4 separate regions of the Homo sapiens genome follow, and regions 2, 3 and 4 are each linked to region 1. The links are contacts of gene promoters, found by promoter capture Hi-C in blood cells and fetal thymus (Javierre and others, 2016). All regions are on one chromosome and are shown on one strand. The core of a region is centred on a gene start or on the middle of the fragment in contact, and the rest is flanking DNA. Distances in the headings are between cores, read along the strand shown. Region 1 holds the start of KRI1 (KRI1 homolog). Region 2 overlaps C19orf38 (chromosome 19 open reading frame 38). Region 3 holds the start of ICAM4 (intercellular adhesion molecule 4 (Landsteiner-Wiener blood group)). Region 4 holds the start of ZGLP1 (zinc finger GATA like protein 1).

Region 1 (7,436 bases), core at 2,265-4,764:
GCCCAGCTAATTTTTAATTTTTTTGTAGAGGCGGGGTATGTTGCCCAGCCTGGTCTCAAACTTCTGTCCTCAAGCGATCCTATTGCCTCAGCCTACCAAAGTGCTGGGATTATGGGCATGAGCCACCATGCCCGGCCCAGGCTGCCAGCTTTTTTCCCTCTCCTGCCCCTAAGACCCCCATAGACCTGACAGGGCTGGGAACCAGGGGGTGGGGATGTAGGCCTTCTCCATACCCTGCCTTCTCCAAGATAACCTTCCTCTCGTAGTCCTTCAGGTACATGGGCCGCACTTTCTTCTGCTTCTCCAAGGCTTCTGGGTCCTCCTCACTGTCTGATGACGATGCTGTTAACCCACCAAAGACACCTGCCATCACCCACAACCCCCTTCTTTGCCGTGGCAGAGAATCCCACAGGGCAGGGCCAGGGTTAGACAGAGGATTCAAATCCCAAATCCACCAATTCCCAGCTGTCCAAGAGTATTGTGCTTGTCACCATCTGGTGGGGTTGGGGTCATTCAGTCAGTAATTCCTGCTTTGATTATTATTATTGTTGTTATTATTTATTTACTTATTTTTTTTTGAGGTGGAGTCTCATTCTGTTGCCCAGGCTGGAGTGCAATGGCATGATCTCGGCTCACTGCAACCTCTGCCTCCCGGGTTCAAGCTGTTCTCATGTCTCAGCCTCCCAAGCAGCTGGGATTACAGGTGCCCACCACCGCGCCCGGCTAATTTTTATATTTTTAGTAGAGATGGGGTTTCTCCATGTTGGTCAGGTTGGTCTCGAACTCCTGACCTCAGGTGATTTGCCTGCATCGGCCTCCCAAAGTGCTGAGATTACAGGCGTGAGCCACCGCACCCGGCCATTATTATTATTTTTTTGAGACAGAGTCTCACTCCGTTGCCCAGTGCATGGCGTGACTTGGCTTACTGCAACCTCCGCCTCCCAGGTTCAAGCGATTCCCCTGCCTCAGCCTCCTGAGTAGCTGGGATTACGGGTGTGCACCACCACGCCCAGCTAATTTTTGTTATTTTTAGTAGAGATGGGGTTTCACCATGTTGGCCAGGCTGGTCTCGAACTCCTGACCTCAAGTGATCCTCCCGCCTCAACCTCCCAAAGTGCTAGGATTACAGGCATGAGCCACCATGCCCAGCCTGATTAATTATTATAATTAATTTTTTTGAGAGTTGGAGTCTTACTCTTGCTCAGGCTGGAGTGCAGTGTCAACATCCTAGCCCACAGCTCACTGCAGCCTTGAACTCATGGGCTTAAGCAATCCTCCCACTTCAGCCTCCCAAATACCTGGGACTATAAGCGCACACCAGCATGCTCAGCTGAGTTCTGAATCTTTTGTAGAGATGGGGTCTTGCCGCCAGGCACAGTGGCTCACGCCTGTAATCCTAGCACTTTGGGAGGCCAAGGCGGATGGATTACCTGAGGTCAGGAGTTCGAGACCAGCCTGGCTAACATGGTGAAACCCCATCTCTACTAAAAATAACAAAAAAATAGCTGGGCGTGGTGGCACGCACCTGTAATCCCAGCTACTCCGGAGGCTGAGGCAGGAGAATCGGTTGAACCGGGGAGGCGGAGGTTGCAGTGAGCCCAGATCATGCCATTGCACTCCAGCTTGGGCAACAAGAGCAAAACTCCGTCTCAAAAAAAAAAAAAGAAAAAAGAAAGAAAGGCTGGCTGGGCGCAGTGGCTCACGCCTGTAATCCCAGCACTTTGGGAGGCCAGGGTGGGCGGATCACCTGAAGTTGGGAGTTCGAGACCAGCCTGGCCAACATGGAGAAACCCTGTCTCTACTAAAAATCCCAAATTAGCTGGGCGTGGTGGCGCGTGCCTGTAATTCCAGCTACTCAGGAGGCTGAGGCAGGAGAATCGCTTGAACCTGGGAGACGGAGGTTGCAGTGAGCTGAGATCGTCCCATTGCAACCCAGCCTGGGCAACAAGAGTGAAACTCCATTTCAAAAAAAAAAAAAGAGAAATGGGGTCTTGCTATGTTGGCCAAACTGGTCTCAAACTCCTGGCCTCAATTGACCCTCCCACCTCAGCCTCCCAAAGTGCTGGGATTAGATGCTTGAACCACCTGCCCAGCCTGGTGGAGTTGGAATCATTCAGTCAGCAATTCCCACCTTGAATAGTGCCAAGGACACAGTCATTAACTCCACCACCAGGTAATAACCTAGGCTCTGCTAAGGACTTGTGACTTGTGAAGCAATTCATTCAATAGTCAAAACAGATGAACTGTGTAAACTGGGTAAATCCCAATCTATCCTTAAAACAGCCCTGAGGGGAGATGCTACCGTTAGATATACTTTACAGACAGGAAAAGAGGCTCAGAGAAGTCAAGTCACTTCTCTGAATCCACAGTCAGGAAAGGACCCCGGATTCTGCTCCAGAGGAAGGAGAGGTTTAGACAGGAGTGGCCCCGGACCTGTTCTGTTATAGAAGGTGGCATCTTTCTGATAAATGCGGGGGTCCTTCTTCTTCAACAAGGAGAGCGTTTTGTAAAAGTCCCGCTCCTGCTGGGGATCAAATTCCTAGGGCAGGAAAAGGGTTGGGGATAGATTTCAGAAGGGAGATAATAAGAGCCCTGGCGCCAGCAGGTGAGCTCAGCGTAGGGATTAGGATGGAGGGGGGTGGATCTGGCTGGGGAGGTCAAACAGGTGGTCAAACAGCAGGAGGGAGAGGGGCCCTCTTGGGGTGGGCAGGGGCAGGCCACAGGTAGGTACAGGATATGGGTAGAGGAAGGTGAGGGGCAAGGAGAAGGTAATTCCTGGGGAAGACAAAGACTTGACAAGGGGCAGGTGGGCTGAGGGCACAAGAGAGACAGCGGGGAGGGGCTGGGCCAGGCCGCACAGTGGGGCCAGGATCAGGGCTGATGTGAGAAGTTGGGCGCCCCACGTGGCGCAAGGAGTACACTAAAAAATGGCTAGACTCTTGAGGATGAAAGAGGAAAGGGGGGGTTCTTGGGGGACAGAGTCGCCCCACACATCAGAGTGGGCAGGTGGGGATCGTGGCAGGGGAGAGAAAATAACGGGGATTTGGCTCCCCTGGGGAGAGGGGGGGCACTGTCTGTCCCTCATGGGATGGGGAGCGGAGGATGGGACGCTCCCGCAGGGCGCTCTGGGGTTGGGGGTTCCCCCCCGTCTACATCGGGGTCGGGGTGCAGAGGGGGGCTTGGACGCCTCCGCACGTCCAGGACGGGGCGGGGACGCGCACCACGCGCTCGTCGCTTGAGTCCGACTCGGAGCTGGAGTCGCTGCTGCTGTCTCGGTCCCCGTAGCGATCCTTCACTGCGGGACACAGACGGGATGCCCCCCCCCAGGTCAGCCGGCGGGGCCACTCGACTCCCCACTTCCCAACCGGCCGGCGCGCGCAGGCTCCCGCGCGCATGCGCCCCGCACTCACGCCGCTGCAGTTCCTCGCGCTCCCGGTAGCGGTTGTACCGCGCGGCAAACGCCGCGTTCACCCGCAGCTGCGACGACCCGCGCGGTTCCGGCATGGCGGTTCTGTGGCCCATTGCGCACGCGCATTGAGGAAGCCCTGGACGGGGCGGGGCCGCCCTCAGTCCCGCCCGCATCCACTTGTAAACGAGGCGTACCGCTGCTAACCCCGCCCCTGGCTTTTCCGGGATCCCTTTCGCCTCATCACCGCAGTCACCGCCCACGGCTACGCCCCTGCGGGGAAGGCCGCGGCCACCGCCCACCCGCCCCACCCCCTGTGCTCCGGGCACCCAGCTGACATCTGGGGGCCCTTTCTCCACTCGCGGTTTCCTGCTTCCCTTCCGTTCCGACAGCGAAAACCGCTGCCCCACCCAGCTCACTCACCCTGGCGCCCTGGGAATTACTATTCTCTCCCCTCACCCACCACATCCACGATCCGCGACCCCCGTCCTCATCCCCATCAACATCCGGGATGTGTAACTCTCCATCCCAGACTCAAAAATCAGAAGCCACCCGTGCTGTGATCATGCACAAGTCTTAATTTAATGGGTAAAAACATTAAATTATTACAACATTTTTTCCAATAAAGCATAATAAATAGAATCCATTTCTTTTAAAACGCTGTACAAGAGACTGGAAAACAAGCTTCCAACAGAATATGAATAACTCATAACTCATTCTACCTTCTTATTGATTTGGGACGCTCCCCCCACCCCCCATGCCTGAAGCAACGTGCACACTTCAGGTCTCTGAGCACAGCCGGCCAAGGCCACCAGCTTCTAGGCTCCCTGGAGGTCATGACTTCACTCTTAAATGCTCTGCCCTTGGGTCTCGTCTGAGGCCCCAGCAGCCTGAGGCGCAGAAGAAACTGAACCGTTTAGGTGGCTGTGGCCTGCAGGAGCCCTTCTCTGTCCAACACACCAAAAGGAGTGAGAAAAACAAATGAGAAACGTCCCCCAAACACTCACACCCCCAAAACCAACACCTATAAGCCACAAACTGTGCTCCTCCCCTACTGCAGCAGTGGGCAGGAGAAACAAGAAGAGAAAGTGTTTCTTCCCCTCTCTTCTGATACATAACCCCACGGGGTTCTCTTGCTGGAGAGGGTGACCCCAGATCACAGCGGGGCCACCATGTGGCCCTGCAGGATGTCCACGAGGTCCTGAGCCCCTCTCTGCAGTGCCAGCTCCAAGGGTGTGAGACCCCTGGCGTCCCTGCGATGGAGATCAGATTCAGCTGCCAGAAAGCTGACCACAGCAGTGTGACCCTCTTGAACTGCCAGATGGATTGGAAGTGCCCCGGTGCCATCAGGCACGTTGACATCAGCCCCGTGCTCCACTAGGACCTTCAGGGTGTCCAGGAATCCAGTGCGGGCTGCGTCATGGACTGGACTGGTACCGGAGGTGTCCTGGACATTGGGGCTGGCACCTTGCTTCAGCAGCTCCAGGGCGATGGCGGTGCTGCCAAACATCATGACCTGTGTGAGGGACAGAGGATCAGGAGGTCCTCAAGGGAGGAGGTTCCACAAAAGGGGTCACTGGAAAGAGAAGGGTCATCCAGAAAGAGGCATCTCCCAGAAACAGGAAATGCTAGAGGAGGGGTCCTCTAGTGAACGGAGAAGCTGCATAAGCCCCCAGGAAAGTTCTTCTGGGAATAGGGACCCCCCCCAAAAGCTGGTCACTCCCTTAAGAATGAGACCCCCCAACCCAGAGAACAGCCCCCCATGGAAACTTTCAAGGAACCTAAGACTCTCCCCCAAGGGACCAAAGACGCCCCCAGATATGGGCAATCACCAGGAAACAGAAAATCCCCTCCAGGAAATGGGCCCCCAGAGATGGAGAACTACCCCCAAAGAATTGATAGTCCTCATAAGGGAAAAAAGATGTCAAAGGAAAGCGAACCCCTTCTCCAGGAAATAGCCTCCTCCTACATAATGGTGATGTCACCTCAGAGTACCTGAGAGCTCCTTTCAAGAAGCGGGATTCCAAAAGTAATAATAAAAGAGAAACGAGACTTCCCTGTAAAATGTCTCCCAGGGAATATAGGGATGTCTTGCAATCTGACATTGTTCCTCCATTGGGGCCCCCATACTATATCAAGGATCCGCATAACCTTTAGGAATGAAGACCCCACCCCCAAGTAACCAGATTTGTCTCAGAGAGCCCCCTACAAAATGAGGAACCCCTAGAGACAGGACCTCTCCTTCCAGAGATCGGATCTCCCCATAGAAGCCCCAAGAAACGTGAGCCGTCCCCATGGAAACGGCATCCAAAGGAGCTGAACCCGCACCCACGGAATAAGAACCTCCCCAGGGAAAGTGAATCCCCGGCACTCAGAGAACCAGGAATCCTCCCAGAGAAGATGCTAAAAAGCTCTCCCCTCCCCCCACAACCTAGCCTCACCCACCACCCACCTTCGAAGGGGGACTGTGGGGGAACAATGAAAGCCTAGAGAAGAAGGACCGGTTCCCAGTGGGTCACCACCAGGGCCAGGAGACCAGAGAGGAGCTCTGGGGTCTCGATCCTCATCCCGCTTAGCCGCCCCGCCCCAACCTGGACCGGCCCGGCCTCACCTGCAGCGCCGTCTTGCCGAAGCGGTTGAGGGCGTCGGGATGCACCAGCTCCCGGTGCAGAAGGCGGCGCACCTCCTGCACGTCGCCCCGGGCCGCCGCCCCACTCAGCCGGTCGCCGGCGCGAACCTCCTCCAGCAGCATGTCGACACTGGCGGCCTGCAAAGCCCCCCGCCCCGCCCCAGCCCGGCGCTGTCAGCGCGGAGCAGCCGGCGGGCGCTGGCCCGAACAGCCCTCCCGGGGCGCGGCCGCGGTGCACCCGGCTGCGCTGCTCTCCCGTCCCGGCTCCCCAGCCCGAGACCCCGGCCCTCCCGGCGGGCTCCTCCCCCTGTCAGCCGGAGGACGGCGAGGGGCTGGGAGCCGGGCCCAACCCTCGGCCGCCCGCGGGGCCCTGCCCGGCGCCCGCCCCTTGGGGGCCGGGTCTCCCCCTAACTCACCCTCCCTCCTCCTCGCCGGGCGGGGTCTGCTCTGAGCCTGCGCCGCCGCCGCCGCTGAGGCAGCCGCCAGGGGGCGGAGCCAACGTGCTCCCGGCCACGCCCCGAACGCAACTGATTTGTTTTCTTACAAACTCGCTACTGTGTAGCGGCACCGCGTTGCCCGGCGCGCGACCTTACGGCGTTCCGCCCACAGGGCCTGCATAACCAGTGGCTGCGCGTCGCCGGGGAAACTTCGGGCTCGGCGTGAAACGCGTCGCTCCTGATTGGTCAGAGTGTGGCAACCGGTGGACCGCCGGCAATGGCGGGGTTTTCGGTTTTCAAATGAACCCGGCAGGCGGGAAAGAAGGCTGGTTTAACTGACCCAGGGAGAAAGGTCAGGGGCAGGGTCGCGCGGGCTGCTCTGGGACCTCGGCGCCTCCTGAGGGAAGGGAGGCAGGGCTGGAGCCACCCAATCCGAGGTTCCACTACTAATAGACATTCATTGGCCCTTACTACGAGCTGGGCGCTTTATTTCATTCATTTATTCATTCACTGTGTGCAGGGAGCGTCCTGGGAGCTGGACGCGCACATTCAAACAACCAAATAATATTAGATAGTGTCAAGCACCGTGAAGAAAGGGAAACGGAGAGACGGAGTGGATGAGGAAGGGATCACCCTGCCGGGCTCAGACTGAGCCAGCAGGAAAGGAGCCTGCAGCTGCCACGTGGGAAGGCCTGAGAGGACATAGTCGCAGCCAGACAGGGACTCAGAGGTCTTCGTTCAAATATTTACTTAGCACCTCCTAGAGGGGCCCGAGTGGAGAGCACGCCAGTCGGCCCCTGCTGCAGGGACACCTATGGTCTGGGGCCAGAGACAATAGTTAATTTTTATTTATATATGTATTTATTTTTGAGTCAGGGTCTCACTCCTGTCACCCGGGCCGGCGTGCAGTGGCGCGATCACAGCTCACTGCAGCCTCGACTTCCCGGGCTCAAGTGATCCTCCT
Region 2 (7,436 bases), core at 1,974-4,473, 290 kb after region 1:
TTTCTCACATGGACCTCTTGTGTGTACTGTTGACTCAGAGGCCTTCCCAGAAAAAGCCAGGCTTACACCCTGCCAGGACTTACTCGCCTTTCCTTTTTCAATCTTCTCAGCCAGCCCAAAAGGGGATTTGTTGGTTCACTGAGCTTAAGTCAGCTCACAGGGCCGACTTCAGGTATGGCTAGATCCAGGTGCTGAAAGCTGTCAGGGACCATTTGCCCCATCTCTGCTCCACATTCTTCTCCGTCTTATTGTCAGGCAGCCCGTCTCCCTCTTGGTGCCAAAATTGGTGCTGTGATTCTTCCCATTTTGCAGATAAGGAAACTGAGGCACAGGAGGTACACACCTTGTACACAGGTAACAGGTAGCCAGTCTGGGATGCCATTGCCTTCCAAAAACCATGAATTACACCTCCGTGACATACATTACTTCCCCTCTTGGCCACATACTTTTTTTGTTTGTTTGCTTTGAGATAGTTATGCTCTTGTTGCCCAGGCTGGAGTGCAGTGGCACGATCTTGGCTCACTGCAGCCTCTGCCTCCTGGTTCAAGCGATTCTTCTGCCTCAGCCTCCTGAGTATCTGGGATTACAGGTGTGTGCCACCATGCCCGGCTAATTTTTGTATTTTTAGTAAAGACAGGATTTCACCATGTTGGCCAGGCCAGTCTCGAACCCCTGACCTCATGATCCGCCTACCTCAGCCTCCCAAAGTGCTGGAATTACAGGCATGAGCCACTGCACCTGGCTTTTTTTTTTTTTTAAATGAGACAAGGTCGTGCAGACTAGAGGGCAATGGCACAATCATAGCTCACTTCATCCTCCAATTCCTATCCTCAAGTGATCCTCCCACCTCAGCCTCCTAAGTAGCTGAGACTACAGGTGTGCACCACCATGCCCAGCTAATTTAAAAAATTATTTTAGAGATGAGGGTCTAAAATGTTGACCAGGGCCGGACATGGTAGCTCATGCTTGTAATCCCAGTACTTTGGGAAGCTGAGGTAGGTGGATCACCTGAGGTCAGAGCTTAAGACCAGCCTGGCCAACATGGTGAAACCCTATGTCTATTAAAAATACAAAAAATAGGCTGGGCGTGGTGGCTCACGCCTGTAATCCCAGCACTTTGGGAGGCCGAGGCGGGTGGATCATGAGGTCAGGAGATTGAGACCATCCTGGCTAACAAGGTGAAACCCCGTCTCTACTAAAAATACAAAAAATTAGCCGGGCGCGGTGGCGGGCACCTGTAGTCCCAGCTACTCGGGAGGCTGAGGCAGGAGAATGGCGTGAACCCGGGAAGCAGAGCTTGCAGTGAGCCGAGATTGCGCCACTGCAGTCCGCAGTCCGGCCTGGGCGACAGAGCGAGACTCCGTCTCAAAAAAAAAAAAAAAAAAAATACAAAAAATAGCTGGGTGTGGTGGCATGCGTGTGTAATCCCAGCTACTCAGGAGGCTGAGGCAGGAGGATCATTTGAATCTGGGAGGCGGAGGTTACAGTGAGCCAAGACAGTGCCATTGCACTCCAGCATGGGTGACAGAGCAAGATTCTGTCTCAAAAAAAAAAAAGATATTGACCAGGCTAGTCTTGAACTCTTAACCTCAAGTGATCCTCCCACCTCGGCCTCCAGAGTAGCTGGGATTACAGATGTGAGTCACCATGCCCAGCATGAGCCACATAAGGTTTCTGAGCACTTACTATGGACCAAGAACTGTCTTTGGGCTTGCCCAAAGACATTCCAGGCTGACATTCCAGGCGGATGAGGACAGATGATAAACATGAAATCCAATATATATTCAACCTGCCAGCAGGGCACCAGATGAAATCCACCTGGGTGAGGATGTCATTATTTGAAGTAGAGTAGGGCGACTGGCCCCATGTTCTAATGGTCAGCCCTCTGGACTCTGAAGTAGAGTAGGGCAATCAGGGAAGCCCTCTCTGAGGAGGTGGCATTTGAGCAAAAAACTGAATGATGAGGAGGAGCCAATCATGTGGATATCCAGGGCATGTGTTGCAGGCAGAGGATACAGGATGTGCAAAGGCCCCGAGGCTGAAGCTTCCCTGGTGTGTCTGAGGAGCCCAGTATGGCTGAAGGATGGTGAACAAGGAGGAAAATGGGGAGAGGCGGGGCAGGGAGTTCACCAGGAGGATCGTGGGGGGTCTTGTAGACCACAGCAAGGATTCGATCTTTTCACCTGAGTGAGGGAACCCTGGCAGGGCTGATGTCCTTTTCTGATCTCTGAATGAGGAGGCTGGACATGGGTTATGGGTCAAGAAGCAGGAGGGAGGAGCCTTTGGTGGCCTTCTGTGTTACCATCAGTCAGAACTTTCCTGGCCGGGTGCAATGACCCACGCCTATAAGCCCAGGACTTTGGGAGGCTGAGGCAGGACGATTCCTTGAGCCAAGGAGTTCAAGATCAGCCTGGGCAACATAGTGAGACCCTGTCTCTACAAAAAAAAAAAAAAATTATTTTATTTTTTTTTTAGATAGGGGTCTTGCTTTGTTGACCAGGCTAGAGTGCAGTGGCGCAATCACAGCTCACTGCAGCCTCCACTTCCTGGGCTCAATCAATCTTCCCTTCTCAGTCTCCCTAGCAGCTGGGACTACAGCCGTGCACCACCACGCCTGGCTAATATGTCTATTTTTTGTAAAGACAGGGACTCACTCTGTCGCCCAGGCTGGAGTGCAGTGGTGTGACCCCAGCTCACTGCAATCTCTACCTCCGAGGTTCAAGCAATTCTCCTGCCTCAGCCTCTCGAGTCTCACTGCAACCTCTACCTCCGAGGTTCAAGCAATTCTCCTGCCTCAGCCTCCCGAGTAGCTGGGATTACAGGCGTGCACCACCATGCCCAGCTACTTTTTGAGTTTTAGTAGAGATGGGGTTTCACAATGCTGGCCAGGCTGCTCTCAAACTCCTGACCTCAGGTGTTCTGCCTGCCTCGGCCTCACAAAGTGCTGGAATTACAGGCGTGAGCCACCATGCCCAGCTCCCCCCAATTTTTTTTTTTTTTTTGAGACAGTCTCGGTCTGTCGCCCAGGCTGGAGTACAGTGGCACGATCTCGGCTCACTGCAACCTCTGCCTCCCGGGTTCAAGCGATTCTCCTGCCTCAGAGCCTCCCGAGTAGCTGGGACTACAGGCATGTGCCACCATGCCCAGCTAATTTTTTGTATTTTTTTTTTTAGTAAGAAGGGGTTTCACAGTGTTAGCCAGGATGATCTCAATCTCCTGATCTTGTGATCCGCCCACCTCAGCCTCCCAAAGTGCTGAGATTACAGGCGTGAGCTACCCCGTCCGGCTAATGTTTTTTTTTTTTTTTTTTTAATTAGGAGGGACTGCTGGCATGTGTCAGTAGGCTGAGGCAGGTGGATCACTTAAGCCGGGGAGGTAGAGGATATAGTGAGCCATGATCGCACCACTGCATTCCAGCCTGGGTGACAGAGGGAGACCCTGTCTGTAAAAACTTTTTTTTTTTTTTAATTTTTGAGACAGAGTCTCACTCTGTCGCCCAGGCTGAAGTGCAGTGGCCCAATCTCGGCTCACTGCAACCTTTGCCTCCCAGGCTCAAGCGATTCTCGTGCCTCAGCCTCCCGAGTAGCTGGGACTACAGGCGCCAACCACCACACCCTGCTAATTTTTGTATTTTTTAGTAGAGATGGGGTTTCACCATGTTGGCCAGGGTGGTCTTCAACTCCTGACCTCAAGTGATCCGCCCACATCGGCCTCCCAAAGTGCTGGGATTACAGCCATGAGCCACCGCGCCTGGCCCAAAAAAACTTTTAAAAAGAACTTTTTCACTGCAAAAAATAATCTTGTTGCCAGCCGAGGCCAACATGCAGCTATGACAGGGCAGTTCTCTGTCCTTCCCGGCCTCAGGCTCCTCTATCAAAGGCCCCCTTCTCTCACCTTGGCCTTGTGGCCTTGGAGTAGGGAGCTGACAACACCCCTTCTGCCCCAGGTGAATCAATGAACAAGGCTGACATTGTGAGAATACCAAGCGTCTGTCTTCTTCCCTCTTCTGGCTTAGCTCCTCACCTCCCTTGGGGTCAGGGCATCTCCTCTTTCTCCAGGAAGGGGAAGCGAAGTCTTGTGCTGAGAAGGTGACTCTGGAACTGCCACTCCCATGCCTGTGTGACTAGCTTCTGGGTGGATCTCAGGGTCTACCGTTGGGCTGGGGGTGGATGTCATCTGGCCACTGGCACCCAGACTGCAAGTAATAAAAACCTGACTCACACTGGCTCTACCAGCAAGAGGGGATTTGTTGGTTCACTGAGCTGAAGTCAGTTTACATGGCTGACTTCAGATATGGCTGGATCCAGGTGCTGAAAAATGACAGAAAGCATTTGCCTTCTCAGCTCCTCTTCTGTCTTATTCTCAGGTAGTTTCTCCCCCTCATGGAGGCAAGATTGTGCCCTGAAGCTTCAGATATATATTCTTTTTTTTTTTTTTTTTTTTTTTTTGAGACAGATTCTAGCTGTGTCACCCAGACTGGAAGGCAATGGCCCAATCTCGGCTCACTGCAACCTCCACCTTTTGGGTTCAATCGATTCTCCTGCCTCAGCGTCCCAAGTAGCTGGGATTACAGGCACGTAACACCTGGCTAATTTTTGTATTTTTAGTAGAGACGAGGTTTCACTATGTTGGCCAGGTTGATCTCGAACTCCTGACCTCAGGTGATCCACCCACCTCAGTCTCCCAAAGGGCTGGGATTACAGGCGTGAGCCACCGTGCCCAGCCATCTCTTTTTTTGTTTGTTTCTTCAGATGGGGTCTCTCTGTGTCACCCAGGCTGGAGTGCAGTAGCACGATCTCAGCTCAGTGCACCCTCCACTTCCCGGGTTCAAACTATTCTTGTGCCTCAGCCTCTGAAGTAGCTGGAATTACAGGTGTGCACCACACCTGGCTAATTATTTGTGGGGTTTTGTTGTTTTTTGTTTTGTTTGTTTCTTTTTGAGACAGAGTCTTGCTCTGTCACCCAGGCTGGAGTTCAGTGGCGCCATCTCAGCTCACTGCAACCTCCGCCTCCCGGGTTCAAGTGATTCTCCTGCCTCAGCCTCCTGAGTAAGTGGGACTACAGGCACGTGCCAGCACGCCTGGCTAATTTTTTGTATTTTTAGTAGAGACGGGGTTTCACAGTGTTAGCCAGGATGGTCTCGATCTACTGACCTAGTGATCCACCTGCCTTGGCCTCCCAAAGTGTGGGGATTACAGGCGTGAGCCACTGCGCCTGGCCAATTATTTATATTTTTAATATAGACAGAATTTCCCTGTGTTGGCTAGGCTGGTCTTGAGCCCCTGGCCTCAAGTAATCCACCTGCCTCAGCCTCCCAAAGTGTTGGGATTACAGGCATGAATCACCGCACCTGGCCTAAGATATCTATCCTATGCAATGCTAGCCAGAGGAGTAAACCTCTTTTCCCAGTGGTACCACCAAAGTCCCAGAGTTAGCTCTCATTGGCTCCACTTGGGTTACATGCTCATCCTGAACCAATCACAATAGCCAGGAGCGGGGGATAGGCTAATTGGCCAGACACAAAGTTTGCTAAGTCTCTTGGGTCCAGCTGCATTCATGTTCTTTGGTTGGGGGTTATGGGGTAAGGGCTGGCTACTCAAAGGTAACCTGGAGAGACGACACTGACCTGCCCACTCTCTTTTCTGATTTTCCTCCAGTGCCCACTTGGATCTTGGTGCTCTCCCTGAGCCTGGCTGGTGCCCTCTTCCTCCTTGCTGGGCTGGTGGCTGTTGCCCTGGTGGTCAGAAAAGGTAACAGCACGCAAAGCCTGGCACACAAGTTGCCAGTTGACAACTTCTGGAACGTGAAGATGTGCTTACACTCACAACTCACACCATTTTGTTTTCAGGTTCAGTAATTTGTTCATCACACCCCTTTTAAAAGTATTTATTTATTTATTTATTATTTTTCTTTTCAGACAGAGGCTCGCTCTGTCGCCCAGGCTGGAGTGCAGTGGCACGATCTCGGCCCACTGCAACCTCCGCCTTCGAGGTTCAAGCAATTCTCCTGCCTCAGCCTCTCAAGTAGCTGGGATTACAGGCGTGCACCACCATGCCTCGCCAATATTTGTATTTTTAGAAGAGATGTGGTTTTGCCATGTTGCCCAAGCTGGTCTGGAACTCCTGACCTCAGGTGATCCGCCCACCTCGGCCTCCCAAAGTGCTGGGATTATAGGCATGAGCCACAGTCCCCGGCCTAAAAATTTTTTATTTGGAGACTCAGTCTGTCACCCAGGCTGGAGTGCAATGGCAGGATCATAGCTCGCTGCATCCTTGACCTCCTGGGCTCAAGCAGTTCTCCTGCCTCAGCCTCCCAAGTAGCTGGGACCACAGGTGCGTGCCACCACATGCAGCTAATTATTTATTTATTTTTTTTAGGACAGGGTCTTGCTGTGTTGCCCAGGCTGGGTAACTCCTGGGCTCAAGCAATCCTCCCACCTCAGCCTCCCAAAAGTCCTGGGACCACAGGCACACACTACCACACCTGGCTAATTTTTAAAAAATATTTTTTGTTGAGATAGGGTCTTGCTATATTGCCCAGGCTGGTCTTGAACTCCTGGGTTCAAGTGATCTTCCTGCCTCAGCCTCCCAAAATGCTGGAATTACAGGCATGTGCCACCATGCCCAGCCAAATTATGTGTGTTTGTGTGTGTGTGTATGTGTGTGGGTATATATGTGTGTGTATGTATATATATATGTGTGTATATATATACATACACACACACACACATACATATATATATATATATATATATATATATTTTTTTTTTTTTTTTTTTAAGATGGAGTCTTGCCCTGTCACCCAGGCTGGAGTGCAGTGAGGCGATCTCGACTCACTTGCTCTGTTGCCAGCCTGGAGTGCAGTGGCACAATCTCGACTCAGTGCAACCTCCGCCTCCCAGGTTAAAGTGATTCTCCTGCCTCAGCCTCCCGAGTAGCTGGGACTACAGGTGCGTGCCACCACACCCAGCTAACTTTTGTATTTTTAGTGGAGACAGGGTTTCACCATGTTGTCCAGGATGGCCCAGCACTTTGGGAGGCCGAGGTGGGCAGATCGCGAGGTCAGGAGTTTGAGACCAGCCTGGGCAATATGGTGAAACCCCATCTCTAATGAAAACACAAAAATTAGCCGGGCGTGGTGGTGTGCACCTGTAGTCCCAGCTACATGGGAGGGTGAGGCAGAAGAATCGCTTGAACCTGGGAGGCAGAGGTTGCAGTGAGTCAAGATCATACCACTGCACTCCAGCCTGGGCGACAGAACGAGACTCTGTCTCAAAAAACAACAAAAAAAGAAAGAAAGAAAGAAAGAAAGAAAGAAAGAAAGAAAAATCTGAGGCCTTCCAGGCTGGGTGGGGTGGCTTGCCTGTAATCCCAGCACTTTGAAAGGCCGAGGCAAGTGGATCACTTGAGGTCAGGAGTTCGAGACCAGTCTGGCCA
Region 3 (7,436 bases), core at 4,585-7,084, 280 kb before region 1:
CCTTGGCCTCCCAAAGTGCTGGGATTACAGGCGTGAGCCACCATGTCTGGCCTGGCCAGGCTGGTCTTGAACTCCTGACTTCCGGTGATCCATCTGTTCTGGCCTCCCAAAGTGCTGGGATTACAGGCATAAGCCACCACGCCATGCCGAAGCCCAGCTTGTTTTTAATTTTTTTTTTTTTTTTTGGAGAAATGAGGTCTTGCAATGTTGCCCAAGCTAGCCTTGAACTCCTGGCCTCAAATGACCCCGCCTTGGCATCCCAAAGTACTGGGATTACAGATGTGAGCCACCATGCCCCAGCCTTGCTTTCTTGAGATACGATTTAGAATACCATAAGATTCATCCCTTTTAAGCACATAATTCAATGACTTCTGTACAAACAACCATGACTACAATCTAATTTTAAAATATTTCAATCACTCTAAAAAAGAAACCTCCTGCTTATGTACAGCGACTCTGTCTACCTCTTAAGTGAATTCTCCTACCTTTAATAGCCCTATTTTACAGTTCAGGAAACTGAGGTTCAGAGAGACAAAGTCACTTACCCACAGCAAAGAAGCAAGGCTGGGTATCAAATGCAGGACCCCCCCGGTCCTGATGCTTTTTTTTTTTTTTTTTTTTTCCTCTGAGAGAGACTCTCACTCTGTCACTCAGTCTAGAGTACAGTGGCGCGATCTCAGTTCACTGCAATCTCTGCCTCCTGGGCTGAAGTAATCCTTTCCTCACAAGTAAACCTCAGCCTCTCAAGTAGCTGGGACTACAGGCACACAACACCACGCCTGGCTAATTTTTGTATTTTTAGGTAGAGACGGGGTTTCACTATATTGGCCAGGCTGGTCTTGAACTCCTGACCTCAGGTGATCCGCCTGCCTCGGCCCCCCAAAGTGTTGGGATTACAGGCGTGAGCCACCACACGCAGCCTTTTTGTTATTAGACTCTGTCATTACTGACTTTTTTTTTTTTTTAATAGAAACAGGGTCTTTCTTTCCCAGGCTAAAGTACAGTGGCATGATCACAGTTCACTATAGCCTTAAACTCCTGGGCTCAAGTGATCCTCCTGCCTCAGCCTCCCAAGTAGCAGGGACTACAGGTGTGCACCACCACACCCAGTTAACCATTCATTCATTCATTCATTCATTTATTTTGAGATGGAGTCTCGCTCTGTCACCTAGGCTGGAGTGCAGTGGCACGATCTCAGCTCACTGCAACCTCCACCTCCCAGGTTCAAGAGATTCTCCTGCCTCAGCCTCCCGAGTAGCTGAGACTACAGGCGTGCACCACCATGCCAGACTAATTTTTGTATTTTTAATAGAGACGGGGTTTCACTCTGTTGGTCAGGCTTATCTCGAACTCCTGACTTCGTGGATCCACCCTCCTTGGCCTCCCAAAGTGCTGGGATTAAAGGCGTGAGCCACCGCGCCCTGCCAACCTTTTTTTAATTTTTCTTAGAGATGGGGGTCTCCCTATGTTGCCCAGGCTTGTCTTGAACTCCTGGCCTCAAGTGACCCTCTTGCCTTGGCCTCACAAAGTGCTAGGATTACAGCCTGAGCCATCACACCTGGCCAACAGGTTTTTTTTTTTGTTTTGTTTTGTTTTTTAAAGAATGTCTAGGCCAGGCTCATTTACTTTCACCTGTAATCCCAGCACTTTGGGAGGCCGGGGTGGGCAGATCACTTGAGGTCAGGAATTCGAGACCAGCCTGGGCAACATGCTGAAACCCCGTTTCTACTAAAAATACAAAAATTAGCTGGGTGTGGTGACACGTGCCTGTAATCCCAGCTACTCAGGAGGTTGAGGCAGGAGAATTGCTTGAACCCAGGAGGCAGAGGTTGCAGTGAGCCAAGATCATGCCATCACCCTCCAGCCTGGGCGACAGAAGGAGACTCAGTCTAAAAACTTAATTAATTAATTAATTAAAAATAAAAATACAAAAATTAACCTGGTGTGGTGGTGTGTGCCTGTAATCTAAGCTACTCAGGAGGCTGAGGCAGGAGAATCCCCTGAATCCCAGAGGCAGAGGTTGCAGTGAGCCAAGATCGAGCCACTGTTTGCCCAGTCTAGTGCACTGGGCTGCTGAATTTATTTGACCAGACACCTAGCAATAGACTTTGAAGTTCTTTTCCACTTTTCACTCTAAGATGCTGCTGTCATGAATAAGGAATATTTTGATCCCCTTCACAAACACTCGGGGCCCTCTTACCAGTTTTCACTGAAGATCTTGACATTCCTATCTGCTTAGGTGTCTGGGCGTGTTTGGGGGAGATACTGAAGAGGTAGGGCTCCCAGGCAGGTGCAGTTCGTCTGTTAGGCAGGCAGCAAGGTCCACTTCACCAGACACCCCCACCTCTGTTTTCCTGCAGGGACTCCAGAACGGGTGGAACTGGCACCCCTCCCCTCTTGGCAGCCAGTGGGCAAGAACCTTACCCTACGCTGCCAGGTGGAGGGTGGGGCACCCCGGGCCAACCTCACCGTGGTGCTGCTCCGTGGGGAGAAGGAGCTGAAACGGGAGCCAGCTGTGGGGGAGCCCGCTGAGGTCACGACCACGGTGCTGGTGAGGAGAGATCACCATGGAGCCAATTTCTCGTGCCGCACTGAACTGGACCTGCGGCCCCAAGGGCTGGAGCTGTTTGAGAACACCTCGGCCCCCTACCAGCTCCAGACCTTTGGTGAGGATTGAAGAAGCCAGCAGGGAGAAGGTGGGGGTGGGGTATCCTGCAATGCGGTGCCTGTGGCCACAGGATCTTTTGAGATGGGTGTGGCCCCGGCTAAGGGGTGCATGTGTTCTAGGCGTATGTGACCTAGGCTGCTGAGTGGCCCTGGAAGAGGATCTCGCAGGAGGGGGAATGAAATGCCCCAGAGAAGGGCTTCGGGACGTCCATCCCTGTCTGCTCACACCTTTCTTCTCTCCCTAGTCCTGCCAGCGACTCCCCCACAACTTGTCAGCCCCCGGGTCCTAGAGGTGGACACGCAGGGGACCGTGGTCTGTTCCCTGGACGGGCTGTTCCCAGTCTCGGAGGCCCAGGTCCACCTGGCACTGGGGGACCAGAGGTTGAACCCCACAGTCACCTATGGCAACGACTCCTTCTCGGCCAAGGCCTCAGTCAGTGTGACCGCAGAGGACGAGGGCACCCAGCGGCTGACGTGTGCAGTAATACTGGGGAACCAGAGCCAGGAGACACTGCAGACAGTGACCATCTACAGTAAGAAGGGGCAGGGGCGGAGTGGGGCTTCTTGGGGGTGTGACCTGAACCCGGGGCGGGGCTCACTGTGTGCCTATTCCAGGCTTTCCGGCGCCCAACGTGATTCTGACGAAGCCAGAGGTCTCAGAAGGGACCGAGGTGACAGTGAAGTGTGAGGCCCACCCTAGAGCCAAGGTGACGCTGAATGGGGTTCCAGCCCAGCCACTGGGCCCGAGGGCCCAGCTCCTGCTGAAGGCCACCCCAGAGGACAACGGGCGCAGCTTCTCCTGCTCTGCAACCCTGGAGGTGGCCGGCCAGCTTATACACAAGAACCAGACCCGGGAGCTTCGTGTCCTGTGTGAGTGGGGCTGCTGGTCAATGGCCCCTATCCCCCAAGGCCCAATCTCCCTGAAGGTCCCATAAGGTCTTGCCTCCAAGTCCTGCCCCCACCCACCTCCATGTCATCTCATCGTGTTTTTCCAGATGGCCCCCGACTGGACGAGAGGGATTGTCCGGGAAACTGGACGTGGCCAGAAAATTCCCAGCAGACTCCAATGTGCCAGGCTTGGGGGAACCCATTGCCCGAGCTCAAGTGTCTAAAGGATGGCACTTTCCCACTGCCCATCGGGGAATCAGTGACTGTCACTCGAGATCTTGAGGGCACCTACCTCTGTCGGGCCAGGAGCACTCAAGGGGAGGTCACCCGCAAGGTGACCGTGAATGTGCTCTGTGAGTGAGCCGGCGGGCAGAGCTGGGTGGGGGCAGGGGCCATGGACCTAATGCAATCCTCACCGCCTGTTGTATCCTCCCCACAGCCCCCCGGTATGAGATTGTCATCATCACTGTGGTAGCAGCCGCAGTCATAATGGGCACTGCAGGCCTCAGCACGTACCTCTATAACCGCCAGCGGAAGATCAAGAAATACAGACTACAACAGGCCCAAAAAGGGACCCCCATGAAACCGAACACACAAGCCACGCCTCCCTGAACCTATCCCGGGACAGGGCCTCTTCCTCGGCCTTCCCATATTGGTGGCAGTGGTGCCACACTGAACAGAGTGGAAGACATATGCCATGCAGCTACACCTACCGGCCCTGGGACGCCGGAGGACAGGGCATTGTCCTCAGTCAGATACAACAGCATTTGGGGCCATGGTACCTGCACACCTAAAACACTAGGCCACGCATCTGATCTGTAGTCACATGACTAAGCCAAGAGGAAGGAGCAAGACTCAAGACATGATTGATGGATGTTAAAGTCTAGCCTGATGAGAGGGGAAGTGGTGGGGGAGACATAGCCCCACCATGAGGACATACAACTGGGAAATACTGAAACTTGCTGCCTATTGGGTATGCTGAGGCCCCACAGACTTACAGAAGAAGTGGCCCTCCATAGACATGTGTAGCATCAAAACACAAAGGCCCACACTTCCTGACGGATGCCAGCTTGGGCACTGCTGTCTACTGACCCCAACCCTTGATGATATGTATTTATTCATTTGTTATTTTACCAGCTATTTATTGAGTGTCTTTTATGTAGGCTAAATGAACATAGGTCTCTGGCCTCACGGAGCTCCCAGTCCTAATCACATTCAAGGTCACCAGGTACAGTTGTACAGGTTGTACACTGCAGGAGAGTGCCTGGCAAAAAGATCAAATGGGGCTGGGACTTCTCATTGGCCAACCTGCCTTTCCCCAGAAGGAGTGATTTTTCTATCGGCACAAAAGCACTATATGGACTGGTAATGGTTACAGGTTCAGAGATTACCCAGTGAGGCCTTATTCCTCCCTTCCCCCCAAAACTGACACCTTTGTTAGCCACCTCCCCACCCACATACATTTCTGCCAGTGTTCACAATGACACTCAGCGGTCATGTCTGGACATGAGTGCCCAGGGAATATGCCCAAGCTATGCCTTGTCCTCTTGTCCTGTTTGCATTTCACTGGGAGCTTGCACTATGCAGCTCCAGTTTCCTGCAGTGATCAGGGTCCTGCAAGCAGTGGGGAAGGGGGCCAAGGTATTGGAGGACTCCCTCCCAGCTTTGGAAGCCTCATCCGCGTGTGTGTGTGTGTGTATGTGTAGACAAGCTCTCGCTCTGTCACCCAGGCTGGAGTGCAGTGGTGCAATCATGGTTCACTGCAGTCTTGACCTTTTGGGCTCAAGTGATCCTCCCACCTCAGCCTCCTGAGTAGCTGGGACCATAGGCTCACAACACCACACCTGGCAAATTTGATTTTTTTTTTTTTTCCAGAGACGGGGTCTCGCAACATTGCCCAGACTTCCTTTGTGTTAGTTAATAAAGCTTTCTCAACTGCCTCAGCCTTGTGTGAGTTGAGGGGAGGTGTCACATCCAGCTGGAGTCCTTTCTAAGCAGCCACAGCCTGATCCTCCCACTTCCTCCCCCAAGAAAACATTGTGGGTTGATGGCCATACCCTGAGGTTCTGGTCCAAATCGGACTTTCTATGACCTTCTGGGTCTCTAGTGAAAACTAAAGACTCCTCTCCAGAAAAAAACATTTGGTTTCTAATGAGGCCTGGAATCTTATTCTTGACCTGGGGAGCGGAATCCCTTTTTGCAGTACTCCCGGGCCCTCTGTTGGGGCCTCCCCTTCCTCTCCAGGGTGGAGTCGAGGAGGCGGGGCTGCGGGCCTCCTTATCTCTAGAGCCGGCCCTGGCTCTCTGGCGCGGGGCCCCTTAGTCCGGGCTTTTTGCCATGGGGTCTCTGTTCCCTCTGTCGCTGCTGTTTTTTTTGGCGGCCGCCTACCCGGGAGTTGGGAGCGCGCTGGGACGCCGGACTAAGCGGGCGCAAAGCCCCAAGGGTAGCCCTCTCGCGCCCTCCGGGACCTCAGTGCCCTTCTGGGTGCGCATGAGCCCGGAGTTCGTGGCTGTGCAGCCGGGGAAGTCAGTGCAGCTCAATTGCAGCAACAGCTGTCCCCAGCCGCAGAATTCCAGCCTCCGCACCCCGCTGCGGCAAGGCAAGACGCTCAGAGGGCCGGGTTGGGTGTCTTACCAGCTGCTCGACGTGAGGGCCTGGAGCTCCCTCGCGCACTGCCTCGTGACCTGCGCAGGAAAAACACGCTGGGCCACCTCCAGGATCACCGCCTACAGTGAGGGACAGGGGCTCGGTCCCGGCTGGGGTGAGGGGAGGGGGCTGGAAGAGGTGGGGGAAGGGTAGTTGACAGTCGCTCTATAGGGAGCGCCCGCGGACCTCACTCAGAGGCTCCCCCTTGCCTTAGAACCGCCCCACAGCGTGATTTTGGAGCCTCCGGTCTTAAAGGGCAGGAAATACACTTTGCGCTGCCACGTGACGCAGGTGTTCCCGGTGGGCTACTTGGTGGTGACCCTGAGGCATGGAAGCCGGGTCATCTATTCCGAAAGCCTGGAGCGCTTCACCGGCCTGGATCTGGCCAACGTGACCTTGACCTACGAGTTTGCTGCTGGACCCCGCGACTTCTGGCAGCCCGTGATCTGCCACGCGCGCCTCAATCTCGACGGCCTGGTGGTCCGCAACAGCTCGGCACCCATTACACTGATGCTCGGTGAGGCACCCCTGTAACCCTGGGGACTAGGAGGAAGGGGGCAGAGAGAGTTATGACCCCGAGAGGGCGCACAGACCAAGCGTGAGCTCCACGCGGGTCGACAGACCTCCCTGTGTTCCGTTCCTAATTCTCGCCTTCTGCTCCCAGCTTGGAGCCCCGCGCCCACAGCTTTGGCCTCCGGTTCCATCGCTGCCCTTGTAGGGATCCTCCTCACTGTGGGCGCTGCGTACCTATGCAAGTGCCTAGCTATGAAGTCCCAGGCGTAAAGGGGGATGTTCTATGCCGGCTGAGCGAGAAAAAGAGGAATATGAAACAATCTGGGGAAATGGCCATACATGGTGGCTGACGCCTGTAATCCCAGCACTTTGGGAGGCCGAGGCAGGAGAATCGCTTGAGCCCAGGAGTTCGAGACCAGCCTGGACAACATAGTGAGACCCCGTCTATGCAAAAAATACACAAATTAGCCTGGTGTGGTGGCCCGCACCTGTGGTCCCAGCTACCCGGGAGGCTGAGTTGGGAGGATCCTTTGAGCCCTGAAAGTCGAGGTTGCAGTGAGCCTTGATCGTGCCACTGCACTCCAGCCTGGGGGACAGAGCACGACCCTGTCTCCAAAAATAAAATAAAAATAAAAATAAATATTGGCGGGGGAACCCTCTGGAATCAATAAAGGCTTCCTTAACCAGCCTCTGTCCTGTGACCTAAGGGTCCGCATTACTGC
Region 4 (7,436 bases), core at 3,617-6,116, 260 kb before region 1:
CCCCCGGGATCCTTGAATCTGGAGATGGCAGAGAGGAGGCAGGCCGGCTCTTTCCCCAATCCTCCTAGGAGAGCTGCTTCTGCCCATTCTCCCACTGGTGAAACGGAGGCAGAAGCAGCAGCTCAGCAGGGTGAAGCTGGGTTTAACCTTCCTGAATGGGGTCCAGGGACACTCCACATCTGCCACATAGCCTCTTGGGCTGGACATTTTTCCTGGGCACCAGCCAGCAGCTGGAGCAGCGAGTGCCGTATTTCTTGTACCTAGGGTTGGGGGACAAGAAACTGCCATTTAGGATGCAGTGGGGGCCCGGAAACCGCCACAAGGAAACCACTTTTCCCAAGAGGTAGGTGTTTTGCTTTTTGCTTTCCCCACAGGCCATCCTGGTTACACGTGGACTGATTTGGGGACCCCCGCCCCAACTCCCTCCTCCATTCTAAGGACCTGATCCCACAGGCGTTGCAGAGAGGGGTCCCATCTTCAGCGTCTCTCCAGAGCGGGGTCCTCTGGGTCCGACAGGAAGCACAGCGCCGGGGCTCTGAAGGGTCAGAGGTCAAAGGGCAGGGGTCAGAGGCCAAGCATGTGAGCTCGGGATGCCTGTGCGGAGTCGGGCATTTTGTGGGGGTCTCAGTAAAGGCCCCACCTAGCTCTGGATCAGCCCTGGGAGTTGCCAGCTCTAAGCCACAGCAAAGCCAGGAAGGGAGACAGATGGCAGCATTCCGCAGAGGAGGAAGCTGGGGGTGGGGGTGACTCAGCCCAAGTGGAGGGGGGTGCTGCGACTCCTCCCTGAGGGCTCTAAATGGGGAAGCAAGATGGAGAAGGGGGGGGCAGGGAGAAAGGCAGGGAAGACAGGAAATTGGCCCCCAAAATATTTATAGCTCTTGGGTTTTCAGGACTCACCCAGGGCCTCGCTGCCTGCTGAGTGGGCCTCGGTGCCTCCTGGGTGGGCTGCAGGGCCCCCAACAGCATCTGCAGGGGATTCCTGAGAACGGCTACTGCAGGGCAGGCTGTGGGGCAGACAAGGTATTAGCACTGGGGGGGATCTGTAGCTTGTCCCCAACAGCCCTCCGAAATGAAGATTTAGTATCAAGGTATCAGCCATCCCCCGAGGAGGCAACTAATATCTGAATGGCCTGGCTTTGCCTCTCATTAGTAATATTATTATTATTATTATTATTATTTTTGCAGATGGAGTCTCGCTCTGTTGCCCAGGCTGGAGTGTAGTGGTGTCATCTCAGCTCACTACAACCTCCACCTCCCGGGTTCAAGCAATTCTTGAGCCTCAGCCTCCCAAGCAGCTGGGACTACAGGCGCGCGACACCACGCCCAGCTAATTTTTGTATTTTTAGTACAGACGGGGTTTCACCATGTTGGCCAGGCTGGTCTCGAACTCCTGACCTCAAGTGATCCACCCACCTCGGCCTCCCAAAGTGCAGGGATTACAGGCATGAGCTACCGTGCCCGACCTAATTATTATTATTATTATTTGAAAAATAGTAAGCACAGGGACAGCCTGCCAGGTTCCAATCCCAGTTCTCCATGTCCTTGCTGTGTGAGCCTGGACACATTATCTCCTACTCTGTGCCTCAGTTTCCTCATCTGTAAAATGGGCTTCCCAATACAACAGTTTTTTTTTCTTTGAAAATTTGATTTATTGATTTTTAAAAAGAGATGGGAGTCTGGGCAATATAGGGAGACCCCGTCTCTACAAACAAAAAAAATAGCCAGGAGTGGTGGTACAGGCCTGCACTCCCAGCTAGTTGGGAGGCTGAGGAGGGAGGATGGCTTGGGCCTGGGAGGTCCAGGCTGCAGTGAGCCATGATTGCGCCACTGCACTCCACCCTGGGTGACAGAGCAAGACCCTGTCTCAAAAACAAACAAACAAACAAAAGCAAAAAAAAGCAGCCAGGCATGGTGGCGGCTCACTCCTGTAATCCCAACACTTTGGGAGGGCAAGGCAGATGGATCACCTGAGGTCAAGAGATCGAGACCATCCCGGCCAACATGGCAAAACCCCATCTCTACTAAAAATACAAAAATTAGCCAGGCGTGGTAGCAGGCACCTGTAATCCCAGCTACTCCAGAGGCTGAGGCAGGAGAATCGTTTGAATCCGGGAGGCAGAGGTTGCAGTGAGCCGAGATTGTGTCATTGCACTCCAGCCTGAACGACAGAGTGCAACTCCATCTCAAAAAAAAAAAAAAATATTGTTTTGGCGGCATGATTAAAAAAGTCATAATTATAATTTTTATAATAACAATAAATAGGTAAAAATTAGAGCTGGGGGTCATACTATGTTGCCCAGGCTGGTCTTGAACTCCTGGGCTCATGCAATCCTCCCACCTTGGCCTCCCAAAGTGCTGGGATTACAGGTGTGAGCCACCAGGCCCAGCTTCCCAAAGCTTTTTTTTTTTTTTTTTTAAGGGGATGGAGTCTTGCTCTGTCACCCAGGCTGGAGTGCAGTGGTGCCATCTCTGCTCAGTGCAACCTCCACCTCCTGGGTTCAAGCGATTCTCCTGCCTCAGCCTCCCAAGTAGCTGGGATTACAGGTGCCCATTACCATTCCCAGCTAGTTTTTTTTTTTTTTTTGAGACTGAGTCCCACTCTGTGGCTCAGGCTGGAGTGAGGTGGCGCTATCTCTGCTTACTGAAGACTTCACCTCCTGAGTTCAAGCGATTCTCCTGCCTCAGCCTCCTGAGCAGCTGGGATTACAGGCACCCACTACAACGCCCAGCTAATTTTTTGTATTTTTAGTAGACATGGGGTTTCACTATGTTGGCCAGGCTGATCTCAAACTCCTGACTTCAGGTGATCTGCTCGCCTTGGCCTCCCAAAGTGATGGGATTATAGGCGTGAGCCACTGTGCCCGGCCTCCCCAGGCTTTTGAATGAGCCCATACACATAAAATACTGCCTGTTAACCTCTTATTGTTGTCACTACCAACAAATAGTAGCTGTTAGCATTATTGGGAAAAATCACCGCAGCCGCAGCTGCAGCCTAAGCAAGGCCAGGCCTGATTCCTAAAGAGACCAGGTCTCACATTGGGAGTGGGGAGCCACTGAGTCAGGAGCGGCAGGACTGTATCTGGCACCAGCTCAAGTTGTCAACCAGAGACTGGGCCACGTGTAACGTAGAGCACAGGTGAGGGTCCACACCGACGCCAGAGAGCACCCCTACCTCCCACACTGGTGTTTGCGTTGTAACTGGGAGAAAGGGCGGCCTGGCCCCAGCCGGCCCCTACCTGTACGTGGGGATGATCTGCAGGCTGGAGTCCGGCTTTATCTGAAACTTCAGAGTCACCCCCTCGAACCCAGGGTCCACTCTCTCGGTGCCCCGGCAGGGGTTCAGCTGTTTCCGGGGCCTTCTCTGGGGTGGGGCCGAGGGAGTCCCCGGGGGCTGCAGACGGCGGCCCTTTTGGCTGATCCTGGTCTGTGTGTCCTTGGAATCCCTGTCCAGCAGCAGGCGGCCCTGAGTCCCCAGAGCCATCGGGTCCCAGCAAGGCCCCAGGACCGGGGTGTCCTGGGCAGGGGACTGACCCAGCCTCTCCACTGTCTCTTGGAGGAAGCACAGGGCGGTGACCGACTCCTGGCATGCAGGCCAGAGGGACCTGGGGAGAAGGGCAGTGGGGTCACGTTTTCTTGGGTGACTCCTGGGTTTAGCCGGCCAGGGGGTTCCAACTTGGGCCGGCTCTTTGTGTACCCTTGGACAGGCTACACACCCCACCTGAGGTTCAGTCATTTCTAACTCTGGGTGGAAGGTTTAAGAGTTGCAGTAATTGCAACTCACCTCGCCCACTGTGGGCCTCCCAGGCACGCCCAGCCCTCCACATCAATCAACCCCTTACGGCACCCGTAGATCACCCAGGCAGGGACCGCCCTAGGTGACCGAGGCAGGATATCAAGCCTCTGGCTGCAGGATCGAGAAAAAGGTTACTTTTTTTCTTTGTGTTTCTTTTAGAGACCGAGCCTCACTCTGTACCCCCGCCTGGAGTGCAGGGGCGTGATCAGGACTCAGTGCAGCCTAGAACTCCTGGGCTCGACCGATCCTTCCGCCTCAGCCTCCCGAGTAGCTGGGACTTACAGGCACGCGCCACCACGCCGCTGGCTTGCCATAATATGATTACGATTTTTATCATTTTCATTATTATTGAGTTGCCCTCCATAACCCCTGGATGATCCCTGGGGAGTGCCTACATCAGCCCCAGAGACATGGAATTGCATGGCCTCTGATCCCTAGATGACCCCAAGTGTCTCTGGGCACCAGAACCTCTTTGTAAGTTTCAGTAACTATTATAAAATTGCCACTTCTCGATAACCCCAGCAAAGAGAGGTCATGACCCCTTGATCACTGAGCCAGGTGGTGAAGTGCTAGCGGGGTCCGGGGAATGGGGTTTGGCCTTACGCACCTCTCACTGATTCTGCAGCATCCTGGGGTCCTCGGCTTCTCCTGGGAGGGGGATCCTCCCAGCCGCTCCAGGTTCAGACAGGGCGGCGCCAGAAGCTTTGCTGGCATTGAGGAGTCCGGGATTGGCTCGGCCTCCATTGCGCCCCAGCCCAGCCCCCTCCCTAATTTCACCCGGCCCTGTCCCGCTGGGCCCACCCGATGAAACCCACCTGGGAGGGGCGGGACCTGTGTGGTGGGAGCGCTCTTGGTAGAGGATGCGATGAGCCCCAGCTGAGAGCGACCAGCCTCGGCGGCACCTTTCCTCTTTCTGGCTTTTTTCAGGTCATCCGCGCACCCCTGCGTGGCAAGGGCGGCCTGGACCCCACCAAATCCCTCCGCAGCTGCCGGGGCGGGGCCTTCCACGCTAGCCCTCCCCCTCGGAAATGGGGGCTCCCAGGCCTCTGCCTTGGATCCCCAGCGGCATCTTAGATCCCAGAGGGAAAAGAGAACCGGGGGCCCAGCACAGCAGATGCAGGTGTGGTTTGTTTTTGTTTTTGTTTTTTTTTTTTTTGAGACAGGGCCTCACTCTGTCACCCAGGCTGGAGTGGAATGGCCTGATCACCGCTCCACTGCAGCCTAAATCCCCTGGGCTCAAGTGATCCTCCCACCTCAGTCTCCCGAGTAGCTGGGACTACAGGCACTTACCACCACTCCACGCTAATTTTTACTGTTTTTATAGAGACGAGGTCTCGCCATGTTGCCCAGGATGGTCTTAAGCTCCTGGCCTCAAGTGATCCTCCCATCTTGGCTTCCCAAAGTGCTAGGATTACAGGTGTGAGCCACCTGTAGACCCCAGATCTGTCCCCCAAGGACACTCAACATGCTGGGGCCTGTGTTATCGATTTATTGCAGCTCCAATATGAGTCCACTCCTACTCAAACCCTGATTCTCAGGGGCCTGGGGAAGGCCACCCCACTAGGGGCCCTGTCCCCACCAGAGCCTGGACATGGGACTCTCTCCCAAGCAGGGGTGTTGTCCTTCACAGGGGCTTCCACGTCTCTCCCGGGCCTGTCCGCACTCTGGGCAGGGCTGGCACCTGGCTATTCCCTCAATCTGGGCCCTGGGGCCATGGCAATGTGGAATGGTCCAGGTGTTCATGTCAGTGGGGCTTGGGGACATGGCCATCCACGTAGAAGTTCCTGGTGATCTTGGGCAGGGTGAATTCCGCTCCTTCCAGCTCCGGTGTCAGCACAATCTGGCAGCCCAGCCGCGAGTTCTCCTGGAGGAGGGGGGCCATGTCTAGCATGTCGTCTTCCCTAGGGTGGTGACACGGGCAGTGTTAGCCGAGGGCAAGCTAGCTGGGTGGGTGGGGGGCCAGAGGTGGGGGAGGGAGGAAGCTGACTGAGCGCAGGGGGTAGTGGTGGGGGAGGCAGCTCCCATTCCAGGAACTGGAAGTGGGGAGGATGGTGGGGGCTGCTGAATGCTCCAGGGTGAAGCTGCCAGCTAGACAGGGCTGACCCACTCACCTCTCCTCGGGAGGAGGCAGGAGATCCAGGTGGTCTTCACTCACATACACATGGCAGGTGGAGCAGGCCAGGGAGGCTTCACAGGCCCCTAGGGGTGGGAAGTGAAGGGGGCGCAGGTGAGTGGCAGAGTCAGGAAGGGGCTGCTATGCGAATGGCGTAGAGGAGTAGACCTCTCTTCCACCACGTGCCTCACGTCTCCCTCCTGGGCCTGCAGCTCCACTGTGTGTACCAGGCACTGTGTCATGTCCTCAATGTCCTCAGCTAGCTGTTCCCCAGTGTGTAGGGTTTACAAACGGACATCTGGGAGGCCCCATTTCCCAGGGACTCCCTAGCAGGCTGAGATGCAGAACCATTAAGGAGCAGGGACTTGGCTGCCAGGTAGCTGAGAGGGGAAAGGCCAGGCAGGCTCCCCGCAGTCTGTGAGCCCTTGCTGTGACCCTATCACTGTGCTGGGCTAATGTGTCCCCACCTCTCCACTGCTCTTGGAGGATGGACCGGCTGACTCAGCAGTCAGTGTGGTGGGGGAAGGAATCAGGCATTAGGATTTTGTTTTTTTTTTTTTTGAGATGGAGTCTTGTTCTGTTGCCCAGGCTGGAGTGCAGTGGCACGATCTCGGCTCACTGCAAGCTCTGCCTCCCGGGTTCACGCCATTCTCCTGCCTCAGCCTCCCAAGTAGCTGGGACTACAGGTGCCTGCCACCACGCCTGGCTAATTTTTTTATATTTTTTTAGTAGAGCTGGGGTTTCACCATGTTAGCCAGGATGGTCTTGATCTCCTGACCTCATGATCTGCCCGCCTCAGCTTCCCAAAGTGCTGGGATTACAGGCGTAAGCCACTGCACCCGGCCAGGATTTTTTTTTTTTTTTTTTGAGACAGGGTCTCACTCTGTTGCCCAGCCTGGAGTGCCATGGCTCAGTCATAGCTTACTGCCTCAACCTCCCGGCTCAAGCGATCCTCCCACCCCAGCCTCCCGAGTAGCTGGGACTACATGTGCGCACCACCACACCTGGCTAATTTTTTTTTTTTTTTTTTTTTGAGGTGGAGTTTCGCTCTCTTTGCCCAGGCTGGAGTGCAATGGTATGATCTCGGCTCAATGCAACCTCTGCCTCCCAGGTTCAAGTGATTCTCCTGCCTCAGCCTCCCAAGTAGCTGGGATTACAGGTGCCCACCATCACGCCCAGCTAATTTTGTATTTTTAGTAGAGATGGGGTTTTGCCATGCTGGCCAGGCTGGTCTTGAACTCCTGACCTCAGGTGATCCACCTATCTCGGCCTCCCTAAGTGCTGGGATTACAGGTGTGAGCCACCGCACCTGGCCATATTTTTTTTTTTTTTTTTTTTTTTTGTAGAGACGAGGTTCACCATGTGGCCCAGGCTGGTCTCAAACTCCTAAGCTCAAGCAATCTGCCTGCCTTGGCTTCCCAAAATGCTGGGACTACAGGCATATGCCACTGCACCAGACCAGGAATTAGGGTTGAAAGAGACAGAACCTGAAGTTTTCTGCTGACCACCTGCCCTTGGTCACACCCCCAC

What was found. The method cuts DNA at HindIII sites, captures the fragments that hold promoters and counts their contacts. A CHiCAGO score of 5 or more calls a contact.
Region 2: a contact is called between a fragment that was not itself captured here and the fragment with the promoter of KRI1 in region 1, in 6 of 17 cell types (neutrophils, M2 macrophages, M0 macrophages and 3 more). The highest score is 11.3, in neutrophils.
Region 3: the fragment with the promoter of ICAM4 here is called in contact with the fragment with the promoter of KRI1 in region 1 in 10 of 17 cell types (naive B cells, megakaryocytes, total B cells and 7 more); the score reaches 9.2 in naive B cells.
Region 4: the fragment with the promoter of ZGLP1 here is called in contact with the fragment with the promoter of KRI1 in region 1 in 1 of 17 cell types (erythroblasts); the score reaches 5.9 in erythroblasts.

What each region holds. Positions count from the first base shown.
Region 1 is chr19:10,562,496-10,569,931 of GRCh38, forward strand. It overlaps KRI1 (KRI1 homolog), which reads right to left and starts at 3,515. Exons shown (of 19, transcript NM_023008.5): 1 at 3,411-3,515; 2 at 3,222-3,295; 3 at 2,434-2,539; 4 at 234-342. The coding sequence starts at 3,504. It overlaps CDKN2D (cyclin dependent kinase inhibitor 2D), which reads right to left and starts at 6,484. Exons shown (of 2, transcript NM_001800.4): 1 at 6,018-6,484; 2 at 3,965-4,922. The coding sequence starts at 6,158. The coding sequence ends at 4,563. RefSeq lists enhancers at 2,620-3,187, 2,936-2,985, 3,188-3,755, 4,704-5,211, 5,651-5,820 and silencers at 3,256-3,785, 6,101-6,750. The HindIII fragment of the contact is 9,818 bases long and covers 1-4,088 here.
Region 2 is chr19:10,850,608-10,858,043 of GRCh38, forward strand. It overlaps C19orf38 (chromosome 19 open reading frame 38), which reads left to right. Exons shown (of 7, transcript NM_001136482.3): 3 at 5,658-5,750. Among named protein-coding and RNA genes, the nearest start is that of C19orf38, 5.9 kb to the left of the region's middle. The HindIII fragment of the contact is 2,363 bases long and covers 2,043-4,405 here.
Region 3 is chr19:10,281,121-10,288,556 of GRCh38, forward strand. It overlaps ICAM4 (intercellular adhesion molecule 4 (Landsteiner-Wiener blood group)), which reads left to right and starts at 5,835. Exons shown (of 3, transcript NM_001544.5): 1 at 5,835-6,286; 2 at 6,416-6,718; 3 at 6,866-7,400. The coding sequence starts at 5,893. The coding sequence ends at 6,984. It overlaps ICAM1 (intercellular adhesion molecule 1), which reads left to right. Exons shown (of 7, transcript NM_000201.3): 3 at 2,361-2,666; 4 at 2,913-3,200; 5 at 3,283-3,537; 6 at 3,663-3,908; 7 at 3,995-5,495. The coding sequence ends at 4,167. ICAM4-AS1 (ICAM4 antisense RNA 1) reads right to left here. Exons shown (of 1, transcript NR_186335.1): 1 at 4,681-7,436. It overlaps LIMASI (lncRNA inflammatory and mucous response associated, antisense to ICAM1), which reads right to left and starts at 2,330. Exons shown (of 4, transcript XR_007067138.1): 1 at 2,201-2,330. RefSeq lists enhancers at 5,403-5,452, 5,507-6,476, 5,823-5,962. The HindIII fragment of the contact is 2,558 bases long and covers 5,480-7,436 here.
Region 4 is chr19:10,304,949-10,312,384 of GRCh38, forward strand. ZGLP1 (zinc finger GATA like protein 1) reads right to left here and starts at 4,867. Exons shown (of 5, transcript NM_001409033.1): 1 at 4,401-4,867; 2 at 3,237-3,602; 3 at 898-1,004; 4 at 442-535; 5 at 1-260. The coding sequence starts at 4,537. The coding sequence ends at 143. FDX2 (ferredoxin 2) reads right to left here. Exons shown (of 5, transcript NM_001397406.1): 4 at 5,905-5,992; 5 at 5,097-5,694. The coding sequence ends at 5,538. FDX2-ZGLP1 (FDX2-ZGLP1 readthrough) reads right to left here. Exons shown (of 9, transcript NR_176052.1): 4 at 5,905-5,992; 5 at 4,401-5,694; 6 at 3,237-3,602; 7 at 898-1,004; 8 at 442-535; 9 at 1-260. RefSeq lists an enhancer at 1-1,113. The HindIII fragment of the contact is 20,285 bases long and covers 4,494-7,436 here.